Linked DNA regions of Homo sapiens: regions 1 and 2 are each linked to region 3. The links are contacts of gene promoters, found by promoter capture Hi-C in human tissues and cell types (Jung and others, 2019). All regions are on one chromosome and are shown on one strand. Each heading gives the region's core, a stretch centred on a gene start or on the middle of the fragment in contact. The rest is flanking DNA. Distances are from core to core; before and after follow the strand shown.

The links. Contacts are between HindIII fragments. The study calls those that stand out against the background at their distance.
Region 1: a fragment that was not itself captured here is called in contact with the fragment with the promoter of HNF1A in region 3 in 1 of the 25 tissues and cell types used here (stomach).
Region 2: a contact is called between a fragment that was not itself captured here and the fragment with the promoter of HNF1A in region 3, in 5 of the 25 tissues and cell types used here (H1 embryonic stem cells, dorsolateral prefrontal cortex, lymphoblastoid cells and 2 more).

The regions. Positions count from the first base shown.
Region 1 is chr12:120,755,853-120,760,107 of GRCh38, reverse strand. No RefSeq gene overlaps it. Among named protein-coding and RNA genes, the nearest start is that of ACADS, 32 kb to the right of the region's middle. The HindIII fragment of the contact is 6,965 bases long and covers 1-4,255 here.
Region 2 is chr12:120,800,637-120,805,165 of GRCh38, reverse strand. All of the region lies in intron 2 of SPPL3 (signal peptide peptidase like 3), which reads left to right. Among named protein-coding and RNA genes, the nearest start is that of ACADS, 77 kb to the right of the region's middle. The HindIII fragment of the contact is 8,897 bases long and covers 1-4,529 here.
Region 3 is chr12:120,976,580-120,980,837 of GRCh38, reverse strand. It overlaps HNF1A (HNF1 homeobox A), which reads right to left and starts at 2,295. Exons shown (of 10, transcript NM_000545.8): 1 at 1,744-2,295. The coding sequence starts at 2,069. The HindIII fragment of the contact is 9,653 bases long and covers 1-4,258 here.

The DNA.
Region 1 (4,255 bases), core at 1,055-3,554, 220 kb after region 3:
TTCACTCTGCCCACCTGGAGCTGCTGGAGTGTAGCCACCACGTGAGCTTCTAGCTTTTGTGTTTGAGCCTTTGCCATTAGAGATTGAATTTCCTCACACCTGCGGTTGCTGTCGTGCCTTGATGGGGTTTTTATCCCCAGGCAGATAGTAACATATCCTGTGACAGCTCCCTGGGGAAGGCGGAAACCAATTTCAGAGAAAGAGGCTGAGCGCTTGCTAGTGCAGGGAGGAACTAAGATGACGAAGCATCGCACGGATGAGTCGTGGCCTTGCCGGCTTGACGGCGGGTAGAATGCAGTGCCACCCTCCCCAAGACCACCATCTGGCCAGGAGCCCCGGCCCCACCTTTCCTCCTTCGCTTGTGCCTCCTGGCACTTCCCGCAGCCCTCCCCTGTTGAGTGTAGGCGTTCTGCCCGGGGCAGTCGCTGTGAGAGAGGCCATGGCCTGGACTAGGGTGATGCGAAGAACAGAACTTGCTACCAGATTGGATGCAGGGTTGGGGACTCCACAGTGACTCCACACTTCTTAACCTGAACAATGAATTGCCAAAATAGATAACAGAAGAAATTGGGGAAGAAGAGTTGTTCTAGCCAATAGAGCAGCTAAAGCCAAAAAAAAAAAAAGTCTTCAGTGATGTAAAGCCTTGCAGAGTATGCGAGATGACCTGGACAGTGAGAGGCAGGAGGAAGACTGCTCTGTGGTGCTCTGAGTGTGAAGGCATTTGTCATGCGCATCCCCCACACAGCCACCATGGGGCTCTGGTTAGGGATGGAGCCCCCTGAGTCCGAGCTGCTTCATCTGAAATGGGGATGAAGGTGCCTCATAGAAAGTATTGAGTAAATATGAGGCGCTCTTCTGGTTTACTGTGTTCTCATATATTTCACACACAATGCTCAGAGAGTTGGAATACAGTTAAAATCATTAGATCTGTACGCTGTCATTATTCAAACCACCACAGCTCCCGGTTCATCATTAGGAATACTGGTTCTCTCCCCTCTGCTGAGGGGTGATTTCCCCCATCCAGGGTCTTGAAATTTTCTTCTACACACTGAAAGCCTTAGCACAAAGCTCCATATGCAGAGGGGGATGGTGGGTGACCCTGCCCATGCAGTTCCTCATTTTGGCTTCTTAAGGCCAAGAAGATCAACCTCTACCCAGATTCTGCACACAAACCAGTGTTGACGTTTTTATTTTTCTGTACTTTTTTTTTCCATAATAAACACTGCATGTGCCCTCTTTAACTTCAGTGTACTTTAAAGTCTTACTGCTTGTTTTGAGGGAAAAGTTTACTACACTGTGAAGCTCCCATTCTGTCAGTCTTTTGTGGGCCTGTATTAGTTGATACATCTAGGTTTTTCTTGAACACCCTTGGAACAAAAGACTCATGGGCCAGGGCCGGGCTCGGTGGCTCACGCCTGTAATCCCAACACTTTGGGAGGCCGAGGTGGGTGGATCACCTGAGGTCGGGAGTTCGAGACCAGCCTGACCAACATGGAGAAATCCCGTCTCTACTAAAAATACAAAATTAGCCGGGTGTGCTGGCATATGGCTGTAGTCCCAGCTACTCGGGAGGCTGAGGCAGGAGAATCGCTTGAACCTGGGAGGTGAAGGTTGCAGTGAGCCGAGATCGCACCACTGCACTCCAGCCTGGGTGACAGAGCGAGACTCCTTCTCAAAAAAAAAGACTCATGGGCCAAACTCCTATCCTGTGTTAAAATAAAACACAGTGTCATTCTAAGCCACTTGGCTCAGGTCAGTCCACTGAATAGGAGAGGGACAGTAGCCAGACTAGAGAGAGTGAAAGAGGAGATTCCAGCCACGCATTTGGAAAATTCTCAGTCCTCCAGGACACAGTGAAGCAATCAGGGCTGAGGCACCGTCTGATGAAGCAGATCAATAACTGGTGGGATGACCCATGACCCTCCCCAAAAGTCGCTGATGAAGGAGCTGATGCTACCTTGAAGGGATGGGCCCGGGCTTCGTCCTCAGCCCTGTCCTGTCCCACATCCCTCTTGATCATTTGGCCAGGGACACAGTTGCCAGGCTTCATTTGAGGAGAACGTGAAGCAAGGAGAAGGGACATACTCATGACCTAAAGAAAGCTCAGAGGCCTGGGGTGTCAAAGCAGATCTGGGGAGATCTGCTGGAGAGAGCCCCAGCCAATGATGGCCACACACCGGGTGTCAGTCATGCCTCCCAAGAGCCCTTTAATAAAGGCAGGTGCCATTACTGTCACCATTGTCACAAAGGAACTCGCCAAGACCCCAAGATCACAAATTGCTAAGTGGCAGAATAAGCTCTAAACACTGTCCCTAATCATTATATTCCATCCTCATCCCAGGATTAGAAATGATCTCCACCCCAGAAAATACAGGTAAGGCATAAACACTGATGGCTCTAGGGCCTACTCTTAGTTCCAAATACATTTAAATCCTACTCTTAGTTCCAAATACATTTAAATCCATCCACTGCCTGTAGCAAATAAAGATTCTTGCAACAGCGTCTGCCTGGGTCTCCCTAACTGCAGAGTGTGTTCCATGCTGTGGGCCAGAATGGTGGCCTGTCATCTCAGATCTTCAGTCTCATTATGTAACGGCAGATTTTATCATCCATTTTATGTACCCAAAGTTTCAAGGGCAGCTAATTTGCCCCAGATCTTCCTGCTTCCAGAGACTGAGCTCATTGCCCAGATTATGAGAAAATAATCACAGCCAGGTTTTGTAGACACGACTTGTTTAGCATACATACAGAACTGTGGGGAGTTTCTGTAAACAGGGAAGGACCATGCAAACAGCATCGTATTGGAGATGGAGATCCACCAACCCTAGTAGGTGGCAGGAAAGAGCTGGGGTTTTGGCTGCCAAGCCCTGGGCTGACCCAGCTGCTGTCCAGAAGGGGCATGCCGACACCTTCCTCTCCAATAATGCTGCAGCAGTGTTGACCATTACTCATGAGAGGGTATCACCTCACACAAACTAGGAGTTCCTAGGAGGAGGGGACCAGGATGCATGCCTCCTAGCAAGCCAGGCTTAAACTAGAATCTTTGAGGCATTCAAAGCAACTGGATTTCATTGTTAAAATTATGACTACCCTATTGCTGATTGATTTTTTTTTTTTTAAGACAGGGTCTTACTGTGTTGCCTAGGCTGGAATGCACTGGTGCAGCCATAGCTTACTGCAACCTCCTACTCTTGAGCTCAAGCAATCCTGCCTCCCAAAGTGCTGGGATTACAGGCATGAGCCACCACACCCAACCCACTGCTGATATTAAAACAAGCCATAAAAACATAAAAACAACTGTCAGCTGCTGTTCTGATCCCCAGTAATACTGGGCTGTTATTCAAATCAATCCTCTGGCTAAAAACAACTTTAAAATATACATGAAATACAGAAAATACCATGTATAAGCCCTGCCTAAATCTGATTTCTGAAATACACAGAGGGCAGACTCTAAACAGCCCAGCTAAGGCCAAAAGAAATAAAGACAAATTTCAGCTGCTGCCCACCAGAGGAGGATCAAAGGGTTTTTTTTGCTTGTGTTTTGCCTTTTCTTTTCTTTTCTTTTTTTTTTTTTTTTGAGACTGAGTCTCGCTCTGTCACCCAGGCTGGAGTGCAGTGGTGCAATCTCGGCTCACTGCAAGCTCCGCCTCCCGGGTTCACGCCATTCTCCTGCCTCAGCCTCCAGAGTAGCTGGGACTACAGGCGCCCACCACCATGCCCGGCTAATTTTTTGTATTTTTTTTAGTAGAGACGGGGTTTCACCGTGTTAGACAGGATGGTCTCGATCTCCTGACCTCGTGATCCACCCACCTCGGCCTCCCAAAGTGCTGGGATTACAGGCGTGAGCCACTGAGCCCGGCCGCCTTCCTTTTCTTAAATTTGAGACAAAGTCTGTGTCTGTCACCCACACTGCAGTGCAGTGGTACAATCATAGCTCACTGCAGCCTTGATCTCCTAAGCTCAAGCAATCCTCTCAGCTCAGCCTCCCAAGTATTAATAGCTGGGACTACAGGCACATACCACCAACTACTTGGGAGGTTTTTATTTGTAGAGATGGGGTCTTGCTGTGTTGCCCAGACTGGTCTCAAACTCCTGGCCTCAAGCCATCCTTTCGCCTTGGCCTCCCAAAATGCTAGGATTACAGGCATGAGGCACTGTCCCTGGCTGGAATCAAAGTTTTAAATCTTGAGTTCAGCCGTTAAATGCCTGCTGTAAAAAAAACAAAACAAAACAAAAAAAAAAACACTTCACCAGA
Region 2 (4,529 bases), core at 381-2,880, 180 kb after region 3:
GTTCAGCCGTCACTGTAATCCAATTTTAGCACATTATCATCCCAAAAGAAAATTTGTACCAGTTAGCAGTCATTCCCATTCCTCTTTCCCTGCCCGCCAGCCCTAGGCAACCATGAATCTACCTTTTATCTCTATAGATTTGCCTATTCTGGACCTCTCGTATAAGTGGTGTCATACAGTATGTGACCTTTTGTTACTGGCTTCTTTCACTTAGCATGTTTTTGAAGTTTATCTGTGTTGTAGCATGTTATCAGTATTTCATTCCTTTTTATTACTGAATAATACTTTTTGTTTTTCCATTCATTGGCTGATAGACGTTTGGGTTGTTTCCCTTTTTTGGCTTTTATGAATAATGTTACTGTGAACATTTGTGTACAAGTTTCTGTGCAGACATAACATATTTATTGCCCTCAAGCAGATACCTAGTAGCAGAATTGCTGGGTCTAATGGTAACTCTTAGTCTTAACATTTTAAGAAATGCTTCTGTTTTCCAAGGCAGCTATGCTATTGTACATTCCCACTAGCAATGTATGAGGTTTCCAATTTCTCCACTTCTTCACCAACACTTGTTATTATCTATCTTTATGATTATAGCTATTCTACTGTTCTGGTGGGTATGAAGTGGTATCTCATTATAATTTTGGTTTGCATTTTCTTAATGCCTACTGATGTTGAGCATCTTTTCATGTGCCCATTTGCCATCTATGTCTCTTCTTTGGTGTCTTTTCAACTCTTCTGTCCATTTTTAAATTGGGTTTTCTTTTTCTTGTTGAATTTTGAGTGTTCTTTCTTTATTGTGAAAATGGGTTTTTGTTATAAGTGCCTCTGGGTTTGTCTTTTCACTTTCTGTATGCTTATAATTGTTATCTATTTCTTGACTTTTATAAAATGTTCCTCTTTATCTCTAGTAACAGTTTCTGTCTTAACATTGTCCAAAAAAGGCTATTTAGATTTTCTTGAGTTAGTTTTTGGTCATTTGTATTATAACTCAAGAGTAACTAGTTCCTTTTTTGTAAAGGCAAGCACCTACCAATGCTTTCTTAGGTAATGAGGGCAGTTCATTTACGTATACCCAAACCTACTCTAGGAAGACAACATCAGGTTAGTAAGCCTGCAGAGATGCTGAGTTCTTTAATAAGAACTATACTTGATATGATTGTGATGCCCTTCATTCTAAGTGCATATAATTGTAGTTAGACCATGGTTCACCAGAACAAGTGTCACTATGGTTCACAATTGTCATGATGTTCTAATTGTGTGTAATATGTTGATTAACTTTTGAGCTACCCTTTTTGTCATTCCATAACTCGTCCTACTTGAAGAAAACATCATACACAGAAGCCTGAACTTGTTAGATGACGTAGGGAATGATTTTGTCCATTGCAGCGTGTGTAGACAAGTTTTTTTATATATTTAAGAATTTCATCAATTCACTATTAAATGTTCAATTTATAAAACCACTGTAAGTTTTCTAGGAACACATATTTAACTTAACCTAACTTTAACCATGTAATGTTTACCTTGAACCAGTGAGTCCCCGCTTCATTGTACTCACTTTCAATAGTAGAATTATCAAAAAACTTTCTTTTTAAAATTTTTTATAAATTAAAATTTTATTATTTTTTCATTTTTTCACTCCTTTCTGGAGCTGAGAAAAAAATAATGTTAAGGTTAAAAATTCCAATTTGCTTTTCTCCTCCAGTAATTCACAGTGTCCTCAGGTATCAGAATGCAAATGGATGAACGAGTATAACTTTCAATAAACTGATCTGCTCTCCCCTCCATTTTGCTTCCTACAATTGTTTATTTGTGCTCTTCACTGCCCGATTTCAGAGCATGTACTAACTTTTGCAAGTTACTTCAAGGAAAAATAAAATGGGGCCAAAGAAAACTAAAAGTATGAGTGGAGACAAAATAGAGCCAAAAAAGAAATGTAAAAATGCATACCATAATGCCAGCACTCCTGTTACTAGTGTTTCACAAGGACCACCATAAGCTTTGTAGCAGCCAGATTTAAAAAGAAAGAATGTAAAACTCAGCTTCCTTCCATCAAAAGAACTCAGTTGTTCAGGTGAATCGCAACTGTTCTTGGCCTTAAGATCAGACAGACTTTTATCCTAACGACCTTCATAAAGAGGATATAATGTTAAGTTCATTCATCTCACAGTAGGCATTCAAATAAGTGTTTGTTGAATGAATTGTAGTACCTTCAATATAAGTTGGTGGCATTGCATGAAAATGTATTTCAGCAAAAGCAGTTTTGCCAAAATTGAAGGTGCACAGTGGGCAACAGGATGTTGTTGTTTAGATAACCATCTTACTGCTAAGTGTGGTCTAAGGTTATATTTTGGAATATCTGGAGAATGAATGGGCTGTTAATTCTTAAACTGGTTATTCTTGAATGTTGATCTGTTAATAAATATTGGTAGCAGACCAGGCACGGTGGCTCACGCTTGTAATCCCAGCATGTTCAGAGGCCAAGGTGGGAGGATCACGTGAGGTCAGGAGTTCCAAGACCAGCCTGGCCAACATGGTGAAACTCCATCTCTACTCAAAATACAAAAATTAGCCAGGCGTGTTGATGCATGCCTGTAATCCCAGCTACTCAGGAGGCTGAGGCAGGAGAATCGCTTGAACTGGGAGGCAGAGGTTGCAGTGAGCCGAGATTGCGCCACTGCACTCCAGCCTGGGCCACAAACTGAGACTCCATCTCAAAAAGGAAAAAAAAAAAAAATATATATATATATATACACACACACACACACACATATATGTGTATATATATACATATATATGTATATATATACACACATACATACATACATACATATATAAAAGCAGCAGCCCAAAAATGTATTATGTTGCCAGCTAAATACAGACCTAGTTGTCTTAACAGCACTCATGGTGCATTCGTATTTTTATCAGAATGAAGGAACCTAATACCTAAATATAAGCCCATGTTTCCCCTTGTCCTGAGGCAGGCAGTGGAAGTTCCTAAAGGCAGGCCTAGAATCTTCCTCAGAAAATCCTTTTTAATCCACTCTAGGACATAAAGAAATGAGTAGTTGATTTCCTAAAGTTCTGTTCCTTGCAACTGAATTAATTCTAGCCTGAAACAAATTTAGGGCAAATATAACCAGATCTCTACCTCAGCCACACTAAAATCTTATTAAGGCACTCACAGAATATTAATATACTTCTTGATATAGTGTCTGTAATAAACTTCATGTGAAATGTACATCAAAGTGACCAAAACACCAAACTGGAATTTATACTTACACCCAATTTAAAGTTGAAGAATGTTGATGAGTTGTCATTCTAACTGACACTAATTAGCTGACAGGGTCAGTGGCCATCTGGACCTTACCCAGTTCAAGGCTAAACCATATCATTCACCTATAAAGCCTGCTGGTCTTAATATTTCTCTGTAGTAAGACAGCTCATGTGCAGCTTATCTAAAAATGATACCAGATCAAGTTTACTTGGGGAGAAATACTCTGTAGGTTTTTTTGTTTGTTTGTTTTTATGAGAAAAAAGCAGTATATACTAATGTGGAAAGATGTAGCGCGTCAAGCAGTGAGCCCATTACTTGGTGTAACAGGGCCAAGGGAAAACTTCCTCTGTGCCCCCTGAATCCTCGCTGAAAAATCCACTGACAAATAGCAGATTAATAGAAAAGGCATACAGATTTGTTAATGTGCACAAAAGTCTTACAAAATATAAGATCTCAAAAAAAAAAAATGGCCAGATGGCTGATGCTTTTATACCACCTTGAGGTTACAGAAAGAATGAGGGCTTGGAGTGTGGCAAGACAGGTTATGGTGGTAAATCAGGTTATGGTGGTGAGACAGATTATGAGAGAGAGAGAAGAGGAGGCCCAGCTAGCACAGGTGGTCCTGTCATGTAGATGAAACCTCACAGGTCGCAGCCCTGAGAGAGAATAGATGGAATATGTTTCTTTCTGACCTTCTAAGGTGTCAGACTCTCAATTAATCTTTCCTGTGTCTGGACAAGGTAGGGCCTCAGAGAAATGCCTCCACCTCATCAATGCATATTTTCTCTACAGATGCAAATCTGCCCCACACAGCTTCTCTCAGCTATTCTTGTATTTCCAGCCCTTCTGAAAACCATCTGAAATATGTCAGAGAAGTATATTTTTGGGTGAAATATTTTTGTTTCCTTCATAATTTTGCCAAGGCAGCAGGCATAAGCTGGAATTTGTGGTCACCCCACTCATGGAGTTTTTCTGTGAATCAAAAGAAACCTTGCCTGTAAAGCACCTAGCAGTGCCTGACAGTATGAGCTCAATCAAGCTTAACTATTATCATCATTTTAACCCCCTGGATGTTCTCAGCTGCTGAGTCAGAGACTGTTTCTTCCTGCCCAGGTTCTTAGTCTTTCTTTCTTAGTGTAGGTTCTATGTAAGTATCAATAATTGGACATTTGTTGACCTCCTACACCTTGACCCATAACTACTTCCTGTTCAGTCATAGTTGATGAAAAGACAAAAAAAAATAGCATATAATATG
Region 3 (4,258 bases), core at 1,046-3,545:
CTGCTTCTCCCAGCTTCTCTGTCCATCTCCCCCAATGGCCTCTCTCTACACTCTCTGCCTCAGCTTCCAGGTCTCTGCTGGTCCCTAGGAAGCACTTTGACCTCTGCTTCCCCTTCAAATGCTGTGGATCAAGCCTCCCCAACCCCACCATCCCACCAAAGGGGGCTGCTGACCGAGAGAGCTCACTCAGCCAGGTAAGAAAGCATCCCCTGCCCCCACCCTCACCCCAAAGCCCCCAGTCCCATCTGGGGCCCTGGGCAGGTCAGGCCCAGCCCCACCCCGTCAGGTTGCCTTCGCCCTGGGTCTGGGATGCCTGACTCTTTGCCCCTCCCCTGCAGCTCTGGAGTCCTTTGCCCTCCTCTTCCTGCCAAGTCAGGGGGCCCTGACTGCTCCCCTGCCCCCTGTCCAGGCCCTCGGGAGGCTCCCTGAGGCCTCTGGGAAAGCAGGAATCCACCAGCCCTCCCCCACCCCAGCTGGGATCAGGACCTTGGACAGAAAAGAGATGGGCCCCTTTGGAGCATCTTTGGGGCTCGGTCTCTCTCTGACTCCCTGGCCACCCCCTGCAGGCCTCTGGTCCCCGGTCATAGCAATTGAGAGCACCGAACAGAGTAGGTTTGGGGCCTCAGTTTGGTGAACTTAGTCTAGCTCCTTCCCGGCTCTAAGCCCCAGTTTCCCCATTTGTGAAGCAGAGTCACCAATAGCTTCTGCCCAGGACTCCTCACCATGAAGGGAAATTATTCCTGTGAAACCTCAGCACAGCGCCCAGGAAGTAGTGAACCTCCTCAAGCAGGCGCTGTAGGGTGGAGGTCAGGGAGCCGCTGGGGAGGGGTGGCCCCTGTAGCCCCCAGGCCATCCTTCCTTCTCCCCCACACCCCCATCCCCCACCCCCACTAGGTGGGAGGTGGGTTGGCCCAGATCTTTCCAGGCCACCATTCCTACAAGTTAATGATCACAGACCTTATCAGAGCCTTTTGCCATTTATAAATTTATAAAACAAAAGAGAAATAATAAAGCACATGGGTAATTAGTAACTAGGTCAGCTCTGCTGAGGAGAGGGGAGGCATCGAGCTCAGGACCCACCCAGTTCTCCAGGAGACGGGGAGTCCGCCAGCGGATGGGGATGTAGAACGGGCAGCCTCTAATGGCGCCTGCTGGTGAGGTGGGGTGCCTGTGGCCATACAGGAAAGGGGAGCAGCTCCCACCTCGAGGCTCTGTCTGCCTCAGGTAAGAAAGACCTGGGCTTCCCTGGCTAAACGCATGAGTCCCTAGGAGGCCAGGAAAGCCCCCAAACCCCAGCTTCGGGCCCTCCTCCCTGGCAGTGCTTCCTGGGCCCCGGAGCCTACCCACTGAGGACTCAGTGCAGGAGTTAGGGTCTGGAGAGTATAAATGATCAGAGTGGCTAAAAATTTCCACCACCTCCCAGTTCTCCAGGCATTTGAGTTGTGAACTCACCTGCTTTTTCTCCCATCTTGGACCCCCCTGGGAAATGTCCCCCTTGCCCAAGGACTGGGCTAAAGGCCTGGGCTCATGGGATTTGGGACTCTGCAGAGGAGCAGTTCAGGGGCTGGAGGCTCAAACCTCCAAGCAAGGACCCCTGGGCTCTCATGGGCCCTGTCCCCCTTCCCAGCAACTAGGCTAAAGGCTGAAGGTCATGGGGACTCAACTCAGAAGGGGGGCTCGTTAGGAGCTGAGGGGGGCCCCTCTAGGCTCTCCTGGGAGCGGGGACGGGGCAGGGCTCCTTACTGCAGAAGGGTCTCCACCACGGCTTTCTGGTGGGCCGCCTCCTCAGGGCTGAGGTTCTCCAGCTCTTTGAGGATGGGTGGCGTGAAGTCTTCCCCATCGTCGTCCGTCTCGTCCTCGGAGCCCCGAGTCTCCCCCAGCCCATTGGGCAGCTCAGCCAGCTCCCCTCGACCGCCGCCGCAGGACTCCCCCTTGTCCAGGGGGCCTTCTCCAGCCAGGAGGTAGGGCCCCGGCTCACCCAGTGCCTGGATCAGTGCCTCTTTGCTCAGCCCTGACTCGAGCAGGGCCGCCAGGAGCTCCGTCTGCAGCTGGCTCAGTTTAGAAACCATGGCTCGGCTGCCACAGGGCCACGCGGCCCGGGTCCACCACGCTAGCCGCCTCCCCCACCGCGTGGGTTGCGTTTGCCTGCCGGCCGGCAGACACAAACCAAACTCCTTGCACCCACTGCCCCCCCAAAACCCCACTAGCCAAGCCCTGTGGGCACCCCCAACCCCCAACCCTGGCCCCAGCGGCCCGTGAATCAGGGCCCCTGCCTGTTCTGTTTACATTGGAGCTGGGGAAATTCTCCAAGGTTCATATTTATCCGTGTGCTTAGCGAAGGGACTGAACTTTGGACTTCAGCCCTGCAAAGTGCAGGCCTCATGGCAGCGGAGAGGGACAGGGAGCTATGGCCTGCGATGGGAGTGGGCAGAGGGGAGGGTGGGGGAGGCGCAGGTGAGGGGCCCTGAGCAGCTGGGATGGAAGGTGCTGGGAGCCAGGGAGGCCATCAGGAGAGCAGCGTTGGGTCCCACCCCCGAAAGAACCTTGTAGGGGCATCATGCTGAGACAGGAGAGCCAAAAATGCTTGCTGCTTACGAGAGCGGCAGCAGCAGGGAGCTCTAGACAGCTGGGCTAGCTCTTCTCAAGGGCAGAGGATGCTCACGGCCATTTTGGGGCCCTTCCATCCATTTTGGGACCCTTCCACCCCACTCCCGGCCTGACACCAGGCCTCCCTGTAGGAAAAAATATGTTAAGATTACCATGTGCCAAGAACAGTGCTGGCTCTGTGAGGGCGAATTCACTTCATTGCATTCTGCTACCAACTGTGAGCAGTTACAGAGATTATCCCCATTTTATAGAGGAGGAAATCGAGGCTCTGAGCGGTTAAGTAACTTGTCCAGGGTCATACAGCCAGCAAGGCAGAAAACATGCAAGGTGAGACTGAGTTGGGATGAGTGTGACACTTGCCTCAGGTGCAAATTTATTTTTTTATTTTTTGAGCTATGTTCTCACTTTGTCACCCAGGCTGGAGTGCTGTGGCGCGATCATGGCTTACTGCAGCCTTGACTTCCTGGGTTCAGGTGATCCTCCCGCCTCAGCCACCCAAGTACCCAAGTAGCTGGCACTACAGGCACGCACCACGACACCCAGCTGATTTTGTGTGTGTGTGTTGTGTGTGTTTGGGTTGTGTGTGTGTGTGTTTTTGAGACAGAGTCTCACTCTGTCACCCAGGCTTGGAGTGCAGTGGAGCAATCTTGGCTCACTGCAACCTCCGCCTCCCAGGTTCAAGCGATTCCCCTGCCTCAGCCTCCGGAGTAGCTGGGATTACAGGCACATACCACTACACCCGGCTAATTTTTTTGTATTCTTTATTGAGTTGGGGTTTCACCATGTTGGCCAGGCTGGTCTTGAACTCTTGACCTCAAGTGATTCGTCCGCCTCGGCCTCCCAAAGTGCTGGGATTACAGGTGTGAGCCACTGTGCCCGGCCTTGTGTGTGTATTTTTTGTGGAGACAGGGTCTTGCCATGCTGCCCAGGTTGGTCTCAAACTCCTGGACTCAAGCCATCCGCCCACCTCAGCCTCCCAAAGTGTTAGGATTACAGGCGTGCGCCACCATGCCTGGCAGCCCAGGTGCAAATTTTAAGGGAATGCCAAAAAACCCAGTCATCAAGGTAAATAACATTTTTATGCAATATGTTTTTAAAATTAAAATGAATGCAAAACCCCAAAGAATTAAAAACAGATGTCTATACAAAAACTTGTGCGTGAATGCTCATAGCAGCATTATTCACAAGAGCCAAAAAGTGGAAAAAACATAAATATTCATCACCTGATGAATATATAAACAAAATATGGCTTGACCATGCAATGGTATAGACATATATATTTTTTTCTTTCTTTTTTTTTTTTTTTGAGATGGGGGTCTCGCTCTGTTGCCCAGGCTGGAGTGCAGTGGTGCAATCTTGGCTCACTGCAACCTCCGCCTCCCGGGTTCAAGCAATTCTCCTGCCTGAGCCTCCCGAGTATCTGGAACTACAGGTATGTACCACCACGCCCAGCTAATTTTTGTATTTTTGGTAGAGATGGGGTTTTACCATGTTGGCCAGACTAGTCTCGAACTCCTGACCTTAGGTGATGCCCTCGCCTTGGCCCCCCAAAGTGCTGGGATTACAGGCATGAGCCACCGCATCCAGCCAATGCAATGGTATATTATTTGGTCATATAAAGGAATGGAGTTCCAGTACATGCCACAACATG